Regions from separate parts of the Homo sapiens genome. Here all the other regions are linked to region 2. Evidence: promoter capture Hi-C in 16 types of primary human blood cells and fetal thymus (Javierre and others, 2016). All regions are on one chromosome and are shown on one strand. The core of a region is centred on a gene start or on the middle of the fragment in contact, and the rest is flanking DNA. Distances in the headings are between cores, read along the strand shown. Region 1 has its middle 60 kb from the start of C5orf67. Region 2 holds the start of C5orf67 (chromosome 5 putative open reading frame 67). Region 3 has its middle 40 kb from the start of C5orf67.

Evidence for each region. Contacts are between HindIII fragments. The CHiCAGO score rates a contact against its expected background, and 5 or more counts as called.
Region 1: a fragment that was not itself captured here is called in contact with the fragment with the promoter of C5orf67 in region 2 in 2 of 17 cell types (total B cells and naive B cells); the score reaches 6.1 in total B cells.
Region 3: a contact is called between a fragment that was not itself captured here and the fragment with the promoter of C5orf67 in region 2, in 2 of 17 cell types (naive B cells and total B cells). The highest score is 5.7, in naive B cells.

What each region holds. Positions count from the first base shown.
Region 1 is chr5:56,665,017-56,667,716 of GRCh38, reverse strand. No RefSeq gene overlaps it. Among named protein-coding and RNA genes, the nearest start is that of C5orf67, 60 kb to the right of the region's middle. The HindIII fragment of the contact is 5,387 bases long and covers 1-2,700 here.
Region 2 is chr5:56,604,810-56,607,509 of GRCh38, reverse strand. It overlaps C5orf67 (chromosome 5 putative open reading frame 67), which reads left to right and starts at 1,254. Exons shown (of 6, transcript NR_161255.1): 1 at 1,254-1,488. The HindIII fragment of the contact is 384 bases long and covers 1,212-1,595 here.
Region 3 is chr5:56,645,202-56,647,941 of GRCh38, reverse strand. No RefSeq gene overlaps it. Among named protein-coding and RNA genes, the nearest start is that of C5orf67, 40 kb to the right of the region's middle. The HindIII fragment of the contact is 3,931 bases long and covers 1-2,740 here.

The DNA of each region.
Region 1 (2,700 bases), core at 67-2,566, 60 kb before region 2:
GTACAGTGTACACTGCTTGGGTGATGGGTGCACCAAAATCTCAGAAATCACCACTAAAGAACTTATTTGTGTAACCAAACACCCCTTTTCCCCCAAAAAACTATTGAAATGAAAAAGTTTTTAAAAAAGAACATTAAAAAAACTTGCCAATTTGATTTTAAAGACAATTGCATTAAAATAGTAAACTATTTTAATATTAATATTAATGTAATATTTTATATTGAAATATAAAATTTTATGCTAAAATATAAATATTAAAATAATAAAGTTTAGACAAAAAAAGAGTAGAACAGAATTTAGGGTTTTAGAAGGCTGTCAATAGAGGGAAAAAAGAAGTCTGTGGAAGGAGCCTGGGTTTCTAGAAGATGGTGGTACATAGCTGAGAAAGTCTTCATAGTGGAGAATGGTTTGTGAATATTTATGAAAGAGGTATCTAATAAGGGTTTTGAAGTTGTTCCTCACTCTGTGTTGCCTTTTATCCCCCTTTACCCACTATCCTTCAGTTAGAAATCTGATACATACAATAACCCTTGAATTTATGCTGAGTTGAGAAATAGGACGGAAGAAGGGTGTTGTCCAGCATGTCCAGGAAGTGGGCTAATGAGAGAGTAGGAAAGATGTAGAAACCAGGAAGGATGTAGCAAGGACCGCCTCAGGAGAAGGGAGAGGACTGCGTGGGTGGGTGGCTCTGGATATTCTGAAGTACAGAGGGTGCAGCCTTGAGCTCTAGTGTTTTGTAAAATTAAAGGGAATCTCTTAGGCAGCAGACACTTGGCATGCCTGCGAATCAATCACGACAGTACGTTGTTGTGGCCAGTCTTTGGTTTGTCCCTCCAAGGGAAAGGTCCACTTTCTTCCCTTGGAGGCTGCCCTGTATGGACCACAGGAAAGGGCTCCCTTGACCCTGGATTCCAGCTGGAGTTCCCTCCAGCACCAGCAGATAATTGGAAGGAGGGAGGAAGAGCCAAACTCAGGGCTTTTCCAGTGGCTCCTTTCCTGAGGGTTTGCTCCAGACTGGCTACATTCCTCTACTCAAGGTTGCAGTTCCTGTGAAGCATCCCTCTTCTTCTCCCTCCAAGCTCTGAGAACTACTTCTTCCTCTTACCTTTCCAGCCTAGGGATAGTAATAGAGCTCCTCTTAATTTGCCCAGCGGTATGTACTAACTTTTGTAGTCTCCTTATACTCTGCTTCTTTGTAAAGAGTCTCTGTTTTAAACACTCTTCAGTATGAGGTTTCTGAGACCTGACTCATACAGATGTGAGAAGGACTAAAAAAGGTTTGTACGAAGCATTATAGGCTGGAGGTGGAGAACGCGATCAGCTGCACAGTGGGAAGGGAACATGGGGTAGGGGCATGGAGGGTTACATGAGTGAGGTTTGAGCTGAATCATGTGCAAGGGGATATTTCCCTGGGATTAGGGTAAACTCCAGCCTGAAAACAGACTTGCATCTGCCAGGCCAGTGTCTCTGTAAGTAAATCTGAATGATTTTCATGGTCATAAAAGATAATGGTTACCCAGTGGGCTTTAAAAGACATGGGCAAATACTATCCAAAGCAATCTACAGATTCAATGCTATTCCTATCACACTACAAATGTCATTTTCACAAAACTAGAAAAAACTATTCTAAAACTCATATGGAACCAAAAAAGAGCCCAAACAGCCAAAGCAATCCTAAACCCCCAAAACAACAAAGCCGGAGGCATCACATTCCCCGACTTTCAGCTATACTATAAGGCTACATTAATCAAAATGGCATGCTACTGGGTACAAAAACAGATACAAAGACCAATGGAACAGAATAGAGAACCCAGAAATAAAGGCGTACACCTATAACCTTCTGATCTTTGATGAAGTTAACAAAAATAAACAAGGACTCCTTATTCAACAAATGGTACTGGAATAGCTTCATATGCAGAAAATTGAAACTGGACTCCTACCTTTAACTATATGCAAAAACTAATTAATGATGGGTTAAAGATTTAAATATAAGATTATATTTAAATTATAAAAATCCCAGAAGAAATCCTAGGAGCACCATTCTGGACATCAGTCTTGGGAAAGAATTTATGCCCAAGTCATAAGCAATTGCGACAAAAACAAAATTGACAAGTGAGACCTAATTAAACTAAAGAGCTTCTGCACAGCAAAAGAAACTATCAAAAGAGTAAACAGGCACCCTAAAGAATGGAAGAAAGTGTTTGTAAACTATGTATCTGACAAAGGTCTGATATACAGAATTTATAAGGAACTTAAACAACTCAACAAGCAAAAGAAAAACCCATGAAAAAGTGGGAAAAGGACATGAACAGACACTTCTCAAAAGAAGACATACAATCAGCCAACAAACGTATGCAAAAATGCTCCACATCATGAATCATCAGAGAAATGCAAATCAAAACCACAATGAAATACCATCTCACACCAGTCACAATGGCCATTATTGAAAAGTCAAAAAACAGATGCTAGTGAACCTGCAGAGAAAAGGGAATGCTTATACGTTGTTGGTGGAAATGTAAATTAGTTCAGCCACTGTGGAAAGCAGTGTGGAGATTTCTCAAACAACTTAAAACGGAACTACCATTCAACCCAGCAACTGTATTATGGGTATACACCCAAAGGAAAATAAATTGTACTACAAAAAAGGCACATGTACTCACATATTCATTGCACTACTCACAATTCCAAAGACATGGAATC
Region 2 (2,700 bases), core at 5-2,504:
AACGTGGAGCAGGAAGAACATCTTGCTCTTGTGACTTGGTTTTAAACGTTGCATCTAGAAGATGGGGTGATACTGAAAGATGTCACTTATTTCCTTTTGTGAATTGAGATAAAATGGTTCTAATTCTTTCACTGCTTTCTGGCTTTAGGGCCCTGCGAAAGAATGTTTATTCTTTTGCTCTTGGTGGGAATTGGATGTCTGTCGATTTAGCATATGTTTAAAATATTTTAGCTTTGGAAAACTGCCCTGATAGCCTTCTCCCTCTAGTCAAAATTAATCTCATCTTCCCGCAGCTCTCACAGCCAGTGATTCATGGCTCTAATACAGCCCTTCTCATATTCTTCTTTATTCTATAAAGACTTACTTTTCTATAAAGACTTTTATTTCTGTTTGTCTCTTACATCAAATTGAAAGTTCTGTGTGGAGAAGAACTCTGTCTTACACATCTTTGTGATTACCTGAGTCTAGTCTGGTACATTATATTTGGCAGCATTCAGTACGTATTACATTGAATCTGGAAGATCACACAGAGAGGGGGATTCTGAGGGGTGGCAACAACCACTTTTGTAGCAGACGCTGTTGGTGTCCAACCCATGTCCCCTTGGCCACCCCAGAGTTTGGCTGTAGTCACATGCTGTGTAGACAGACAACCTCCTGCTTCTCTCTGCCTGAGGGCATTCTTCAGCCATAGAAATGAGCTTGGAAGCGGCTGGGTATGGTGGCTCACACCTGTAATCCCAGCACTTTGGGAGGCCGAGGCAGGCGGATCACAAGGTCAGGAGTTCAAGACCAGCCTGGCCAATATAGTGAAACCCCATCTCTACTAAAAACACAACAAATTAGCTGGGTGTGGTGGCGGGCACCTGTTATCCCAGCTACTCAGGAGGCTGAGGCAGAAGAATCACTTGAACCCAGGAGGCAGAGGTTGCAGTGAGCCGAGATCGCACCATTGCACTCCAACGTGGGCAACAGTGCAAGACTCCATCTCAAAAAAAAAAAAAGACAAAAGGAAAAAAGAAAAAAGAAATGAGCTTGGAAGCACACAGGTTAGTCTGCAAGTGCCAGGGAATTATTGCCCAAGGAATGACCCTTGGCCAAAGAGGGAAAGTCCTGGCTGGATAAATAATCCAAAGTCCTTGCCCTCATTCCAAGGAATGTTCTGCAGTCTCCTAAGGGTTTCCTGCTAGAGGAAGCCCTGATTGCCCAAAGCTTCTTAACACATTCTTTATTAGCTTTCCTCTCTTCCCTGTTTCATATTCCCTGTGCTCCCCTGGGATCAACAGCCAAATGAACAACTTCACCTGAGCCCTTACCTCCAAGGAAGTGCCACAGGGGAACCCAAAGGCCCTTAATCATTAAAAAAAACTTTAGAGATGCTGGCTGAGCCATCAGTGAGAACATGGATGCATACACAGAACCTACATCTTGTCATCTCTGCTCTTCGAGGAATGGAGCTGGAGAGGCAGAGAAGCAATGAAGCCGAATTCTGTGAGTGGGACTTCTGCGCAGCGGGGGAGGGAATTTCTACTTCTGGCCAGGAAATAGAGCTGGTGCCTTGTAGAAAGGCTCGAGGTAATGCAGTCAAAGGGCAAGCTTAGAGCAGTATGTGAAGGAATCCACCAAGGATTAGAACCAGCCAAGGGTCAGACAAACCAAATGAGACCAGAAGAGGAAAGTGGTGTCTTGGCAGAAAGGGCTTCCAGACCCATAGTCACAGGAATCTTCAGGAGAGGGGTGAAGAAGAAGGCATGGATCGCCAGGCCCAGGAGAGTCTAAAGCTGGTTTGGTGGGGAAGAATTTGGCCACATCTGTGCAGGATCCTAGAGAGTGGGGCAGAGGAGCTGGGCATCTGCTGTCAATGAGGCCAATTAAGAACAGTCTCAGGCTTGGGTCTCAAGCCTCAGGGATCTAGAACTTATCTGGTTTTAGCTGCTCTATATTCATTTCTTAGGAAGAGAGAGAGAGAGAGTATGTGTGTGTGTGTCTGTGTCTGTGTATATGTGTGAAATTTCTCTCAACTGAAACACAGGGCAGAACACTAGATGAAACTAGTGCTGTACTTTTCTGCTTATCTGTCGACACAGTCTTAGTGCGCAAAGTCTTGGTCTTAGTGGCTGGGTGTGGCAGTTTCCCAGAGGTGGGGGGCAGTAATAAAGAGAGAGAAAGGGAGACCTGATAGAAGATGGAGACCAGATAGAAGGCATCTGCTACGTGCATAGGTGCCCCTTTCTGAACAAGCTGTTTTTTGGTTACGAGATCCATTCCTGAAATCGATTTTAAGATATTCTGTGTTGGGTGATGTCACAGAAGCACTACTGGTGCACGGATTTGAAAAATAGTGGCTCATCCCGCCTCAGGGTTTGACAGCTTGGTAACTTGCAGTGAGGTTTCTTTTAACAATGAAACCAAGTCCTTTGAAAGACAAAAAAAGAACAAAACATCCACTAATTTTTGCGTGCAGGAGTAAGACAACAGTATTGGGAGATCTCAGCTATAAATGTGCCAGCTCTGGGAACTTTGGTTAAGTCATTTCACCATTCGCCTGTTTCCTCACCTATAACCAAGGAGGCAGCCAAGCCATCCCTAGTATTTCCTGGAATTCTGAGATCCTAAGTCAGATTGTTGAGTCTGGAGAGGCTGGATTCAGTGATTGACTAGGAGGGGCCTGTTTGTGTGGCTGTGTTCTATATGGCAAAACTT
Region 3 (2,740 bases), core at 218-2,717, 40 kb before region 2:
TAGGTTTTTTGCTAATATTTTACGCCACTTTTAGCATCCTACGCAGCATTTTTCTTACACAGCATAAGTGAATATTTTTAGAAAATTTTAATAAATATTTCTAGCAATAACATCTTCACTGAGATAGACTCTACTGTAAATCTACTATGCTTATTACGTACTTACCATTTAATAGATAATGGAAATCACACCCTAGGCCTCACATGCCATCAAAAAGTTCTAACAGATTGAGTGTTTCTTTGAGCAGCAAGTAAGTGTGCATGCCTGGGAAACCCCAGTTTTTCCTGCCTGTTCACAGACCAAAAATAAAAAAGAGAGAGAGAATTCTTTGATCTAAGACAGATTTGCAGATAACCACTTACCTGGAACATATATCATTAGTTTACGTCTGGCTGGTGGAACTTTTTGTTTTCTTTGTCTGTGTTTTACTTTGGGGAGAAACAACCATTAGTGGCCAGCCATTGTTTTATATTTACATGCAAAAAAAGAGACAGAGAAAGGTTTCGAACTGAGGCCCCAGGTCCTGGGGACTAGAATATGCTTTATCTCTAGTATTCCTATCCAAGTTCCTGAAGCTGTCTGGGTGAGGCAGCCTGGGCCCTGTGCACGGGGCCTTGCTTTGCCTGTTTTTTCCATTCTCTGCTCTAGACTCCTCCCTATCTTATCTCTTGCTAAATCAGGGTAGTTCCTACAGTTAATTTGCCCAACTCACTTTGCATAATTTTTCCTCTGAGTTACCCCAGAAAGCTCTAACCAGGTTCACTGATTCCCACTCCAATCCTAGCCTCCCTCAATTATATTTCTGGGCAGCAGCATTCAGTCAAGCAGTTTGGTTTGTTTCAATTTGTGCCCATCTTCTCCACTGAGCAGTCCTGGTACTCTCGCCTCCCTATGGAACCACAGGGCCCTGCTTGCCCAGTGTGGCATTCATTCCCAGCAGCTCCATCTGGATCCAGTGGCCAGCTCCTTCTACCAAGTAGAGCTGATTGGGCAGCAGACAATGGCAAGGAAAACTGAAGAATGTCACTGGCCACAGGCCCGCTGAGAGTGAGACTCCTGTGCTCCCACTGTGTCATTTGTGATTTCCCTTTCTTGTGTCTTCTATGCCAGCATGGATTCAAACCTTTGGTTTTGTCTGGAAGTGTCCAGGTGAATAATTGTTATTCTTAAAATATTCTTCGATGTATGTGCAGAACTTCTGAATTCCATTATATGGAGAAATAAAAGCATCCGTTTTCTTCAGTGCTTCATTTTATACCTCAAATTCTGCTGAAGTGATTTAATTTTCTGGGAACCACCCTCTTTTATACTTTCCTGGTGAACTTCCTTTCCTAGGTTGACAAAGCAAGCTGAGGATTTTCCTACTAAGATTTTGAGTTTCCCTGTAGTCCCAGCTGCTCGGGAGGCTGAGGCAGGAGAATGGCGTGAACCTGGGAGGCGGAGCTTGCAGTGAGCAGAGATCGCGCCACTGCACTCCAGCCTGGGCGACAGAGCGAGACTCCGTCTCAAAAAAAAAAAAAAAAAGATTTTGAGTTCCAAGCAACAGAAGTTAACTTACCTGTGTATTTATCTATGGGTGTGCAGAGCAACTCCTTGTTATACTTTCATTTACAGAAGGGCAATAGTGACAACCTAACAATGCTTAGGTCAAAAGCAGGTCCCTGCTGTTGCAGAATAGAAGCTACCACAGAATGAGCGTGTACTGTGTGGCTACTATTGTACCAGGTACTTAATACATGATCTCATTTAGTCCTCAGAATAACTTGTTATGAGGAAACTGAGTCCCAGAAAGGTGAAGTAGCTAGATCAATATAACATGGAACCAAGATTTGGACTCGGACCTCCCCAGGCCTAGCACAATCCTCTCTTCATTATACTGCGTTGCTTGTTTTTCTTGTTGATAGGAAAGAGATTTGGCGAATTATCTTGGTGTCCCTTAAATCACACCAAGCCAGCATCTGTCTTTGTCCAAGGAGTCAGGCAGCGAGTCTTGTGTGTGTACATTTTCCCACCTTCAGAACCTTTGGCTCATGCCTTTACCATCACTGTTTCCCGCTGATTCTAGCAGACAGATGGGCCTCTTTCCCAACCTGGGTCATGAGCAGAGCGGTTCATGAAGGAGTTGTTCAGAATCCTGATTCCAGGTATAATCTGCATGAACCCCATTGAGAAGGAGCCCCTTCTCAGAAGGTATCAGTGCTCTTGTGGATTGGCAGGGTTGGTGGGGTGGGGTGGGGGAGTGGGCCTTACACAGTTCTTTCAGCCCAGGGCTACTGAATGTGTCACTGAACCCATGACTCTGCTTCCATGCTATTTCACAGAACCATTTAAAGAGCAGCATATGAAAGAAAACATTAAAAAACATAATTTTATTCAAGAGTACATTCCAAATGCCTTGGTATCGAAATCGCTCCTTCTACACCTTAAGTTGATTTCCCCTAATTTGGTTTTCCAGGTATGTGCAAAGAAATCATCCCTGTGTTTTAGATATTTGAAGTTTCCTAAAACTTCCTGTTCATCTCTTCTGAGCAAACCTTTGCTTTTCTCCCCAATCTTTTAGGTATTTCCTAGTCCGTTTGAGCTCTTAGCTGGTTTTGCATTTTTCTCTGCATCTCATCTAAATTTACCACCTGTTTAGGTTTTAATGTGATAATTAACAGAGTATATTAATATGCCCTGACTTGGAAATTCAATTTGACAAATATTTACAATTGGCTTTTCTGTACACAGCACAGCTATA